Linked DNA regions of Homo sapiens: regions 1 and 3 are each linked to region 2. Evidence: promoter capture Hi-C in 16 types of primary human blood cells and fetal thymus (Javierre and others, 2016). All regions are on one chromosome and are shown on one strand. The core of a region is centred on a gene start or on the middle of the fragment in contact, and the rest is flanking DNA. Distances in the headings are between cores, read along the strand shown.

The links. Contacts are between HindIII fragments. The CHiCAGO score rates a contact against its expected background, and 5 or more counts as called.
Region 1: a contact is called between a fragment that was not itself captured here and the fragment with the promoter of C16orf89 in region 2, in 1 of 17 cell types (M2 macrophages). The highest score is 5.4, in M2 macrophages.
Region 3: a contact is called between a fragment that was not itself captured here and the fragment with the promoter of C16orf89 in region 2, in 2 of 17 cell types (M2 macrophages and naive CD8 T cells). The highest score is 5.3, in M2 macrophages.

Annotation. Positions count from the first base shown.
Region 1 is chr16:4,816,971-4,821,040 of GRCh38, forward strand. It overlaps GLYR1 (glyoxylate reductase 1 homolog), which reads right to left. Exons shown (of 16, transcript NM_032569.4): 10 at 628-727. Among named protein-coding and RNA genes, the nearest start is that of ROGDI, 16 kb to the left of the region's middle. The HindIII fragment of the contact is 2,515 bases long and covers 514-3,028 here.
Region 2 is chr16:5,063,957-5,068,432 of GRCh38, forward strand. It overlaps C16orf89 (chromosome 16 open reading frame 89), which reads right to left and starts at 2,000. Exons shown (of 8, transcript NM_001098514.3): 1 at 1,745-2,000. The coding sequence starts at 1,952. The HindIII fragment of the contact is 15,659 bases long and covers 1-4,476 here.
Region 3 is chr16:4,910,472-4,914,545 of GRCh38, forward strand. It overlaps PPL (periplakin), which reads right to left. Exons shown (of 22, transcript NM_002705.5): 2 at 379-478. It overlaps LOC124903637 (a long non-coding RNA gene), which reads left to right. Exons shown (of 3, transcript XR_007064965.1): 2 at 1,980-2,060; 3 at 3,890-3,977. Among named protein-coding and RNA genes, the nearest start is that of PPL, 25 kb to the right of the region's middle. The HindIII fragment of the contact is 174 bases long and covers 1,878-2,051 here.

The DNA of each region.
Region 1 (4,070 bases), core at 521-3,020, 250 kb before region 2:
GTCTTGTTCTGTTGCCAGGCTGGAGTGCAGTGACACGATCTCAGCTCACTGCAACCTCTGCCTCCCACATTCAAGTTATTCTCCTGCCTCAGCCTCCTGAGTAACTGAGACTACAGGTGAACGCCACCATACCCAGCTAATTTTTGTATTTTCTATTTTTTTTTTTTGAGACGGAGTCTTGCTCTGTCGCCCAGGCTGGAGTGCAGTGGCGCGATCTCGGCTCACTGCAAGCTCTGCCTCCCGGGTTCATGCCATTCTCCTGCCTCAGCCTCTGGAGCAGCTGGGACTACAGGTGCCCGCCACCACGCCCGGCTAATTTTTTGTATTTTAAGTAGAGACGGGGTTTCACCGTGTTAGCCAGGATGGTCTCGATCTCCTGACCTCATGATCCGCCCGCCTCAGCCTCCCAAAGTGCTGGGATTACAGGAGTGAGCCACCGCGCCAGGCAAATGTTTAGGTTTTATAATAACATCCTAAGTTTAGGCATCTACATCTCTACCTGCCTGGACTAAAAGCTTGGCTTCTATTCTATTGCACGCAGAACGCTGAGACAACAGGGGGAGATGTCCACTCTTAGGGTTACCCCAGACTCCACCGATCCAACAGGCACCACCCCTGAATGCTTACTTTCTCTGCAGTGCGGTTCCAGACAGTCACTGTGTGACCCATTTTTAGCAAGTTGGAGACGATTCCACTTCCCATGAGACCAAGGCCCAAAAATCCTATCCTGAAACAGAGAGAGACTGATGAGTTCAGGGTGGAAAGGGAGGGTCACGGTGATGATGATTCCATGCAGCACAAGGCTCGCTCCCTTATACAGCTTGGGGTAGGGGAATTCAGACTGCCAGAAACAGCAGTGGCCAATCTACCTGCAGAGCCAGGGGCGTCATGCACATGGGTCTTCTCTTATGCCATGGTCTAAAGCTGTCCCAGGATGTAAACAGGCATTTTGAAACCCCTGACTGTCACAGAAAAAAGTATGATGTGTATGGTTCAGGGCCAGTCTCCCAGGGCAAAGTCCCCTTGCTGCCCTTTTTTTTTTTTTTGAGACAGTCTTGCTCTGTTCCAGGCTGGAGTGCAATGGCGCGAGCTCAGCTCACTGCAACCTCTGCATCCTGGGTTCAAGCGATTCTCCTGCCTCAGCTTTCTGAGTAGCTGGGATTACAGGCGCACGCCACCATGCCCAGCTAATTTTTGTATTTTTAGTAGAGACAGGGTTTCACCATGTTGGCCAGGCTGGTCTCAAACTCCTGACCTCGTGATCTGCCCACCTCGGCCTCCCAAAGTGCTCGGATTACAGGCGTGAGCCACCATGCCCGGCCTCACACTTTACTTATTTTTTGAGATAGTGTCTTGTTCTGTTGCCCAGGCTGCAGTGTAGTGGTGCAATCATGGCTCACTGCAGCCTCGACCTCCTGGGCTCAAGTAATCCTTCCCCCTCAGCCTCCTGGGTAGCTGAGACTACAGGCATCTGTCAGCACACCTAATTTTTTGTGGAGATGGGCTTTTGCCATGTTACCCAGGCTGGTCTTGGACTCCTGGGCTTAAGGGATCCGCCCACCTCAGCCTCCCAAAGTGCTGGGGTTGCAGGTGTGAACCACTGCACCCGGCTCTGGATACTACTTTAAAGCCCAACAGAATCCACCACAAGTCACTGAAGCACTGTGTTTAGAGCCAGGCAACTTCCTTGACTGCATGAACCAGGACGGCAATTTTCACCTCTCTTTCCCAACTTCAATTCTCTACCCACACCCTACCTTTCCCGTCTTCCCGTTATCAACAGAATGGGCCTTGCCTCTCCTCTCCAAAGCTAAGTCCTTCACCTGAGCTTGGAACCCAATCTTTCCCAGTCCACAAATCCTTCTCCCCATGCCTGCCTTCCCCCAAACCTCTCACTGTTCCCCCAGCCCTTCCTTCCACAGGTCCTTCCCAATCCTTGTGACAGAAGCACTCATTGGCCAGTCTCCTCCACACACATTCACATACTCCGCCTGCTCCTTCCTGCAACCCTGAGAGCTGGGGGCTGGATGCCACTGCTGCTATTTCAACATGCTTTTACGGATGACTTTTAGCTTGCCAAAGTGTCTTTTCTTGATTCTTGTACTTCTTCACCTCTCTTTGCAAGTGACAATGGTGCAAAAGAATGCCTTTCCTCATTTCTGATCATATCATGTTCTTGTTTTTATAGTTTTTAATTTTTATTTATTTATTTATTTAAAAAGAGAGATGGGGGGGTCTTGCTATGTTGGCTAGGCTGGTCTCGAACTTTTGGTATCAGGCAATCCTCTCACCTCAGCCTCCCAAAGTGTTAGGATTATGGGCGTGAGCCACTGCACCCAGCCTTTTTTCTTTTTTTAGTGACAGCATTATGCTGTCTCCCAGGCTGGAGTGCAGGGGGGTGATCATAGCTCACCGCAGCCTCAAACTCCTGGGCTCAAGTGATCCTTCCACCTCAGTCCACCTGAGCAGCTAGGACTATAGGTGCATGCCACCATGTCTGGCTAAGTTTTAAAATTTTTTTGTAGAGACGGGGTCTTGCTGTATTTCCTAGGCTGGTCATGAACTCCTGGCCTCAAGGGATCCTTCTGCTTTGGTCTCCCAAAGTGTGGGGATTACAAGGATGAGCTACTGCGCTTGGCCATGTTTTCAATTCAGAAATTCTCTGACTGCTGGATGTCCCCGGCAGCTCCTCCACTTTGACCCTGTCATTCTTTCCATAGTTTTGGTCTTCTGGAACCATCTCTACAAATGGACCCCTAATCTCAGCTGGAATATCAGCTGCTCACATTCTCCCTGTCCCAGCCTGTATTAAGTAATTTGAATCACATGTTGAAAATGGAACCCACCAACTTTCTCACCAAAATAGACCTCCTTGCTAACTGCTTCAAGTTGTGGCTTAAAAACAAGGAGGTACCTTTTTGTCACTCATTATTTGGGTAGTACAATATTCCCCCATGATTCTAAATCATGACAGGCGAATTCCCTTTCCTTTCTTGGTGTTCTAGGAAGTCCAGTAGACCTGGGATAAAGCTTCTGGATTTTTTTGAGACACAGTCTCGTTCTGTTGCCCAGGCTGGAGTGCAGTGGTGCGATCTTGGCTCACTGCAACCTCCACCTCCCGGGTTCAAGCGATTCTCCCACCTCAGCCTCCCAAGTAGCTGGGATTAAAGGCACCCACCATCATGCCTGGCTAATTTTTGTAGAGACAGGGTTTCACCATGTTGGCCAGGCTGGTCTTGAACTCCTGACCTCAGGTAATCCGCCCACCTTGGCCTCCCAAAGTGCTGGGATAACAGCCATGAGCCACCATGCCCAGGTCAAGGTTCTGGATTTTTAATATGGCAACTGAGAGTCCTTCACACTGTGTCTCAGACAAAATGGAAATGTGGATTAAGGTGGGTTGGGCAACAACAAAACTGGTTGGTTTTGATGCTGGCTTCATACTCTTTTATTAAAAGTTTGACTAATGGGCCAATAAATGTGTTGGGTAAAAACATCAGGACTCTGTCCTCACCCTATCCTGATCATTTTTTTATTTTTATTTTTTTAACACAATCCTCCTCCCCTTTGTTTGCACCTAATATGCCCTTATCTCCTCCACTCTACAGAGACAAGTTCACCAAAAATAACTGGTAGCATTAGTGATTTAAACAGTACAAAAATATCATGTAAAAGATGCACTGTTTTTAGTCTGGGGAAGACCATGTGAAAGGTACAAACTGGAAACTGACTTTAGCTAACTTGCTCCAGAGAACGTGTTTTCCTAGAAAAGGTATCTTTTTGCCAACAAGACTCTGCGGAGGAGACATGCCTACAGAGCAGGCACAGAGGCAAGGCTGGGCGCAAGTTGGGTCTGGGAGCATGTCCAGGATCGCCCCACCCACACCGGGCAGGGTGCAGGACAGCCAGCAAGTGCTCAGTGAGGATCCCCAAGCACTTTCATCTCCCTTCCCCCACCTGCCCCACCATGGCCAATTTTGGGGCCTCATCATGATTCTACTCAGCCAGTGGTTCTCACAGCGTAGCTCTGACCAGCAGCAGCAGTATACCTGGGAACTGGTTAAAAATAC
Region 2 (4,476 bases), core at 750-3,249:
TCTCTACCAAAAATACAAAAATTAGCCGGGCGTGGTGGTGGGTACCTGTAGTCCCAGCTATTTGGGAGGCTGAGCAGGAGAATCGCTTGAACCTGGAGGTGGAGGTTGCAGTGAGCTGAGGTGGCACCACTGCACTGCAGCCTGGGCGACAGAGCGAGACTCCGTCTCAAAATAATAATAATATAATAATAATAATAAATAAAAAATAAAGTGCACAATAAATTTAATGCACGTGAATTGTCCTGAAACCCTCCCCTCCACCTCAGTCCATGGAAAAATTGCTTTCCACAAAACCAGTCCCTGGTGTCAAAAAGGTTGGGGACCACTGCAATGGGACGTAGACCCTGCCCACTGGGAGCTCATTGTTTAGAGAGACACAGGTGAGGAAGCCGTTGCTGCTAGTCAAGGATGCTCAATGCTTTGATAGATGGAAACAGTAATGGCTGACAAGTACTGAGCCCCACTGGTAAGATGACATATACACACAATCTCATGAGACACATGTGCATGATCGTGTGATACTCCCATCCACCAGCTGCAGCTGAAGGATGAGGAAACCAAAACTCCACGAGAGCAGTTAACTCAGTGCCATGCAGCCAGTTGGGGGAGATCCAGGATTTGAACCTGGGCAGTCCAGTTCTGAAGCTCTGTTCTAGGCACTGGCACTGCCTTTGCTCCCTTCTGGGCACAGTTCACGGGTGTGGTTGTATTAAGCACTGAATTCCTAGGGAATCTGTTATGGAGCAAGATTATTGAGAGGAGAAGGGGCAGTGGATGTGGGATGTGGCGTGGGTGGAGAAGCCGGGCTCACTGCAGCTGCCAAGGAGTGGGGACCCTGGTCTGAGGCTGTTAGGTGGGGCCGCTTTCCCAGTGAATGCTGCCCAGTCATGATTAAGAGAACCCCCTCCCTTCTTTGCTAAAAGAGGATAATAATAATGGGTGTAACCTCAGGGATGACGGGGAGAGGGCACTGAAGTACCCCATGCAATGCACCTGGGTTGTGCCCACATTGAGCAGATACTTAGTGAACTACAGCTTTTGCTATCACATGCGCCCCAGGAAGCACCCAGCCCTGTGGGAGCCACCTGTGTGCTTGTGTGTGTGTGTGATATGCTTGTGTGCATGCGTGCATGCGTGCTTGTGTGTGTGATGTGCATGTGTGTGTGCGTGCGTGCATGTGTGCTTGTGTGTGTGTGCATGATGTGCGCATGTGTGTGTTTACCTTGGCCTGTCTCCAGCCCCCTTCTTGGGGATCTTATAGCTCTCAAAGCTAAACAAACACTTGACTGTTTTTGCAGAACCTTCAGGAGACTTTGGCTGCAAGTGGAGGAAGTGGGGTGGGAACCCGATCTTGAGGGTCCTCAGTTTTGTCCACAGCCACCTCATTCAAGGGGAGGGGTCTTCCCACAAATATCTGTTAACGGGGCACTCTCCCTGCTCCCCTTGTTCGTGGCGTTGTGAGGAGGGGCTGTCAAATGGATCATTTCATTCTGAGAAAAAGATAATTCCCAAATCCCTTCCCATGTTGCCTTTAAATCTTTCCTACTTCTAAAAAATTGCGTAACAGTTAGCTGGGCCACAGCCGCCAGGAAGATCCAGCCCCTGGCCTCCTCTCTCCTTATAGCCGAGGCAGGCTATACTGGGGCCAGGAGTCTGCCAGGTCCCAGGCGTACAGAGCAGGGCAGGGGACAAAGCTGAGAGCTAGCTTCCCAGTGTCCAGCCAGAGGAATTGGGGCTCACTCACCTTCCAGCACTCGGACCCCCACCATGCCATCCAGGTTGATTTCAGGCAGCCTCTGTTCTAGGAAGACGGTGGCTCTCTCCAGCGCAGACAGGATCAGGTCTGCAATGGTGGCTTTACTTTCAGCAGTGTCCAGCCCAGGCAGTGAGGAGGACCACAGCGGTGGCAGTGCTGTCAGTAAGAGCAGGAGCAGCAGCCCCAGGCTGGCCATGGCCGGCCTCTGCTCACTGCTGGTCACACGCTCAGCACCCTGAGCTCTGGCCAAGCCCAGACTGCCTCTGCACGCCCTCCTCCCACCTCCTTCCCACCTCCCCCTGGCAGACATGAAGACAAGTGGCCCGGCAGGGCTGCCAAGAAGCCTGGGGTGGCCTGGGCAAAGGACTCTGGGAAGGGTGGCTGCAGGGGGATGACGGTTAGGCAGCGGAGGTTAGGCCAGTCCTGGGCGTAGAGCCTGCTGTCCACGGGATGCTGGGGAGAGGGCTGCCCGCCCTGTCCTTCTCAGCCCTGATTCTCCAGGCTCACAGGCTAGATCTTTGATCTAGCAATTGCAATTCAACCCAGAAATCCAAAAGCTCTGAAAGCAAAACGAATTTTTTTTTCTTTGTTTTTTGAAATAGGGTCTCATTCTCTTGCCTAGGCTGGAGTGCAGTGGTTTGATCACAGCTCACTGTAGCCTTGACCTCCTGGGCTCAATAGATCCTCTTGCCTCAGCCTCCTGAATAGCTGGGACAATCGGCATGTGCCACCATGTTGCCTAATTTTTGTAGCTTTTTTTAATAGAGACAGGGTCTCACTATGTTGATCAGGCTGGTCTTGAACCGCTGGCCTCAAGCGAGCCACCTTCTTTGGGCTCCCAAAGTGCTGGGATTACAGGCTGGAGCCACCACACCCAGGCTTTGTTTTAAATAAATTTGAAACAAACTCATTTGAGGGCACGTCTGCCTTGAACTGAGGCAAACTTCCTTAAAGGGGCACCGTCCAATTGAAATAGAATTGGAGCTACAAAGATGAGCCATGTGTGCATTTCGAAATTTCCTAGTAGCCACATCTAAGAAAGCAGCAATAAGCAGGTGAAGTTAATTTTAACGATCTAGTTTATTTGACCCAGTTATTTAAAATATTATAATTACATCTGTAATCAATATAGAAATGATTTGTTTTTATTTTTGTCATACTAAGTCTTTGAAATTGATGAGTAGTTTATGTTCACAACACAATTGTTTTATTTTGTTATTTTATTTTTAAGAGACAGGGTCTCATTCTGTTGCCCAGGCTGGAGTGCAGTGATGTGGTCATAGTTCACTGCAGTCTCGAGCTCCTAGGCTCAAGGGACCCTCGCGCTTTAGCCTCCCAAGGAGCTGGCACTCCAGATGTAAGCCACCATGCCAGGCTAAGCACATTTCAATTCAGACTATCCATATTTCAGGGGCTTGATAGTCACATGTAGCTGGTATACTGGGCAGTGTCTTAGTTTTGTGCTACTACAACAGAATACCTGAGACTGAGTAATTTATAAAGAAAAGAAATTCATTTGGCTCATAGTTCTGGAGGCTGGGAAGTCCAGGTTCAAGGGGTTGCATCTGGTGGGGGTCTTCTTGCTATATCATCCCACGGTGGAGGGCAGAAGGGCACGAGAGCTGGAGAGAGAGAAGAGAAAGAAGCTAAACTCATTCCTTTATCAGGTACACGCTTTTGCAATAACAGCATGAATCCATTCATGAGGGCAGAGGCCTCATGAAAGATTCCATCTCTCAACACTGTTGCATTGAGAATTAAGGTTCCAACATACGAACTTTAGGGCACACATTCAAACCACAGCAGAGAGTGAGGACCTAGCGTCCTTATTGGTTTCATTCAGTGTGAATGCGCATCTGTTTCCTTGCAGAAATGTTAATGTTGGTTTCCTGGGTGCTGTCCCAAACCTTGCTGGGGCTGTTGTATGTATGTGCACCACATTATCTTTCTAAAATCCCAACAATTTTGAATTCAGAAACATACTTGGTCCCAAGGGCTTCAGCAAACAGATTACAGATCTGTAATAATAATCAAAAGAACACCACTAAAGTGTGTATGTGATGCTCCCTATGTGCAGATGCTAGGTTAGGGCTTCTCCACCTTTTAATTTCGTCATTGTTCTTTTTTCTACCCCCGGAGTGTTTTTAGACGTTTTAATCCTGAAAAATCTTTAGTAAGAGGCTTATTGAGATATTATTCACATACCATAAAATTCACCTTTTAAATGTGTACAGTTTCACAGTGGTTTTTAGTATATTCACAAAGTTGTGCAGCCATCACTATCTATCTCCAGAATGTTTTTGCCACCCTGAAAAGAAATCCCATACCCATTTGCAGAAACTCCCTATTCCCTCCTCCCCAGCCCCTACCAACCATGAATCAACTTTCTGTGTCTATGGTTTGACCTACGGTGGATATTTCATATAAATGGAATCATACAATGCGTGGCTTTTTGTGTCTGGCTTCTCTCACTCAGCGTGATGTTTTCAAGGTTCATCTGTGTTGTAGCACATGTCAGTACTTTATTCTTTTTTATGGATGAATAATATCATCTCCCGGGGAAGCCCCTCCTGCTCTGATGATTTAAGAGGATGAGGACTATGGAGATGACAAACCAAAAGTAGACACCTAGGCCGGGCATGGTGGCTCATACCTGTAATCCCAGCACTTTGAGAGGCTGAGGCGGGGAGATCACTTGAGGTCAGGAGTTCAAGACCAAC
Region 3 (4,074 bases), core at 715-3,214, 150 kb before region 2:
ATAGAGCCTGACCCCATGGCACTCCTCCAGGCAGGAGACGCTTTCCACAGGGCCCAGGAAGAGGGAGGAACTTAGTATCCGGGAGGTACTAGTATTAACGACAATGGCCAGGTTCCTCTCACAGAGCAGGGCTTCCTGACCTTGGCACCCCTGCCCTACAGTGCACGGTAGGGTGTTCAGCAGCATCCCTGTCTCCCCTCCCCAACTGGACGCCAGGAGGACCTTCCTTCCAAGCAGTGACAACCAAAATGTCTCTGCATGTTCCCTCGGGGCCACAATCACCCCTGGGTGAGAATCACCGATTCCAAACAGATCCTGGTCCTGAACAGGGCTGGCAGCACGGGGCACCCAGGTGGGAGTGGGAGTGGGGGCACTCACACTCTGCATCTTGGCCTCTGTGTCCACGATGTTCTTCTCCACCTGGTCGGCATTCTTCTGCAGCTGCTCGATCAGCTCCGAGAGCTCCTTGTTAGAGATGCTGCGGGCAGAAGCCGAGGGGAGATGGGCGGGGTGCCTGGTGGGTGGGGGCTATGTCCCCACCAGCACCCCATCCTCTGGCTGGCCCCGGCCCCACGCTCTGAGCAGGAGCTGCCCACAGAGCCTTTGAGGTAGTTGGGCTGTTCCCATAGGGCAACATCACTAAAGCCACAGAGACAAGGCAGCGCCTGGCAGGCGGTCAGCCTCCTTTTTTTTTTTTTTTTTTTTTTTGAGATGGAGTCTTGCTCTGTCACCCAGGCTAAAGTGCAGTGGCGTGATCTCAGCTTACTGCAACCTCCACTTCCTGGGTTCAAATGATTCTCATGCCTCAGCCTCCCCAGTAGCTGAGATTACAAGCATGCACCACCAAGCCTGGCTAATTTTTGTATTTTTAGTGGAGATGGGGTTCCACCATGTTGGCCAGGCTGGTCTTGAACTCCTGACCTCAAGTGATCCACCTATCTTGGCCTCCCAAAGTGCTGGGATTACAGGCGTGAGCCACCGCGCCCGCCCAGCCTCCACTTTGATCATTCTCTCTAATGCTTCTATTTTTTATTTTTATTCATTCATTCGTTCATTCATTCATTCATTCATTCATTTTATTGAGACGGAGTCTCACACTCTTGCCCAGGCTGGGGTGTAGCGGCACAGTCATGGCTCACTGCAGCCTCTATCTCCCAGGCTCAAGCAATCCTCCTAGCCCAGCCTCCCAAGTAGCTGGGACTACAGGCACATGCCACCACTCCTGCATAACTTTTACATTTCTTTTGGTAGAGAAGGGGTTTCACCATGTCACCCAGGCTGGTCTCGAACTCCTGAGCTCAAGCAATTCGTCCACCTTGGACTCCCAAAGTGCTGGGATTACAGATGTCAGCCACCAGGCCCCGACTACATATTTTTTTGTGAGAGATAGGGTCTCACTCTGTCACCCAGACTGGAGTGCAGTGGCGTGATCATAGTTCACTATAGCCTCGAACTCCTGAGCTCAAGCAATCCTCCTACCTCCACCTCCTGAGTAGCTGGGACCACTGGCACCACCAGCACACCCAGCTTCTAATGCTTCTATTTTGCCATGTTGGCAAAACGCACCATATTTGAAAAATTGGGAGATAACTCACATACCGTAAAATTCACCTGTTTAAAATACACAGTCACTGGCTTTTAGTACTACACATTCAGAATCGTGCAACCATCACCACTATCTCATTCCAGACATTTTTATCACCCCAAAGCTCCACACCCACAAGCTGTCACTCCCTATTCCCCACCCGCTCCAGCCCCTGGCAACCAGGAATTTACTTTTTCTCTCTATGGATTTGCCTATTCTGGACATTTCATATAAATAGAATCACACAACACGTGGCCTTTTGCGTCTGCCTTCTCTCAGCATAATGTTTTCAAGCTTTGTGCATATTGCAGCATCTATTAGAACTTCATTCTTTTTATGGCTGAATAATATTCCATCACGTGGCTACTTCACATTTTGCTTATTCATTCAACAGCTGACAACCATCTGGGCCGTTTCCACCTTTGGGCCATCGTGAGAATCACGCTGCTATGAACGTTCGGGAACAAGCTTTTGTGTGAGCAGTCTTATTTTTAATTACCTGATATTTTTCTTTCAACCTACTCGTTTTATTTTAGAGTTAAATGTGTTTACAAAGGTAACTTCTCTCCCCATTTTAATCAGAAATCAGAAGCCCTCACCATGAGTGAATTAGCTGCCAAAATAAATTTCATGGGAACGCAGTGGCACTGGGTTCCGTGGTGACACTGGGCTGCCCGCTGTTACAAGTCAGGAGGTGTGACAGCCGTGGTGGCGTCAGGCCCAGCCTTTCTCCTGATCTTCTCAGAGCGCCTGAAAGAGACTTGAGGCCCGGTGTGGTGGCTCATACCTGTAATCCCAGCACTTTGGGAGGCCAAGGCGGGCGAATCACCTGAGATCAGGAGTTTGAGACCAGCCTGGCCAACATGGTGAAACCCCATCTCTACTAAAAATACAAAAATTAGCTAGGTGTGGTGGCATGCGCCTGTAGTCCCAGCTACTCGGGAGGCTGAGGCAGGAGAACTGCTTGAACCTGGGAGGTGGAGGTGGCAGTGAGCTGAGATTGCACCACTGCACTCCAGCCTGGGTAACAGAGCGAGACTCCATCTCGAAAAAAAAAAACAAGAAAAGAAAAAAAAGTCTTGAAAGCAGACTGGCCCTCTCCCTCACTGTCTCTGTGTCCCCTCCTGTCACATTTGTCTACTGCCCCCCGTCCCCCAGAACCACAGACAGACCACTCTGGAAAATGCTCTAATGGGAGTTAGTTAAGACTTTGGCCCTGGGGTTAGCTGTGGGTTCAGATCTTGGCTCCCATCAGCCACTTAGTGGCTGTGTGACTTGGCCCAGCTCCCTTGCCTATCTGTGCCTCTGTCTCCCAATCCGATGGACTAGAGTAACAGTCCTTTCCCGGGGCCAGGGTGGCAGGGGTTATGAATGGAAGTGAGGTTACACTACCAAAGGACTGTGCATAGAGCCGGGCACAGAATAAGTCTGAACAAAGGTTTGTGATTTTAGTTGTCAAGGAGCCTTAGAGATCACCCAGCTCTGCCTCTGTGGTTTTGAGACCGAGTCTCACTCTGTCACCCAGGCTGGAAGTGCAGTGGTATCATCTTGGCTCGCTGCAACCTCCACTTCTTGGGGTCAAGTGATTCGGCTGCCTCAGCCTTTTGAGTAGCTGGGATTACAGGTGTGAGCCACCATGCCCAGCCTCCTTCTGTTGTTTTCTTTAAACAAAGAAAGAAAGGGAAACCAACTTGGCCATTGTCACCCAGTTAGCCAGCGATGATAGCTCCCCTGTCTCCACTGAAGACCCACAGTGGGGCCTGAGTGGCTAGGCACGCAGAAGTTGCCTTCTACTCACACTCATTAAGCACCTGCTGTGTGCGGGCCCTGCACCTCACAAAGACAAGCCTCTCCCTCCCTGATCCACCCCACAGACCAGGAGGAAATCAGTATTTATAGAAACAGTCACGAGACTGAGGCAGGCCTGGAGGCTGGGGATGCCCAGGGGAACCTCTGGACTGGCTGGGTGGGGACAGCGGTGGTCACTGAAGGCTTCCTGGAGGAGGTGGTGTCGGCTGGGTGCTAAAGCAAAAGGAAGAATTTGGTGTTCCTGTGCAGAAGGCTCCAATGAGGACACGCCATAGAGAGAGGCAGGTCCTGGCACGTCCCGTGGGGTGGGCCAGGGCGGGGTTCTTGACCGTCAAGGCAGAGGGGACCACCAGCCCTTTCGAGTGATGCTCCCCAGATCAAGGTTCTGGGGCCTAGCATGAAAAATTCAGATTCCCGGCCACTAACCCAGACCTGCTGAACCCAGGTCTCCAGAGCTGGGCCCAGGAAGCTGTATTATTATTACTATTTTTGCAGGTTCCCCAGGGTACCTGGACACCTACCGGAGTCATGGACCAGCAATGCAGGTGCTGTTGATGTTGGGGGCATTGGGGGCAGAAATGGCAGCAGCCAACATGCTGGGGATCCATCCGTCTAGGTTCCACACCTTGCTTAAGGGCCAGCTTTGTGGCAGACCTGGATACACCGGAGCTGGGGGATCT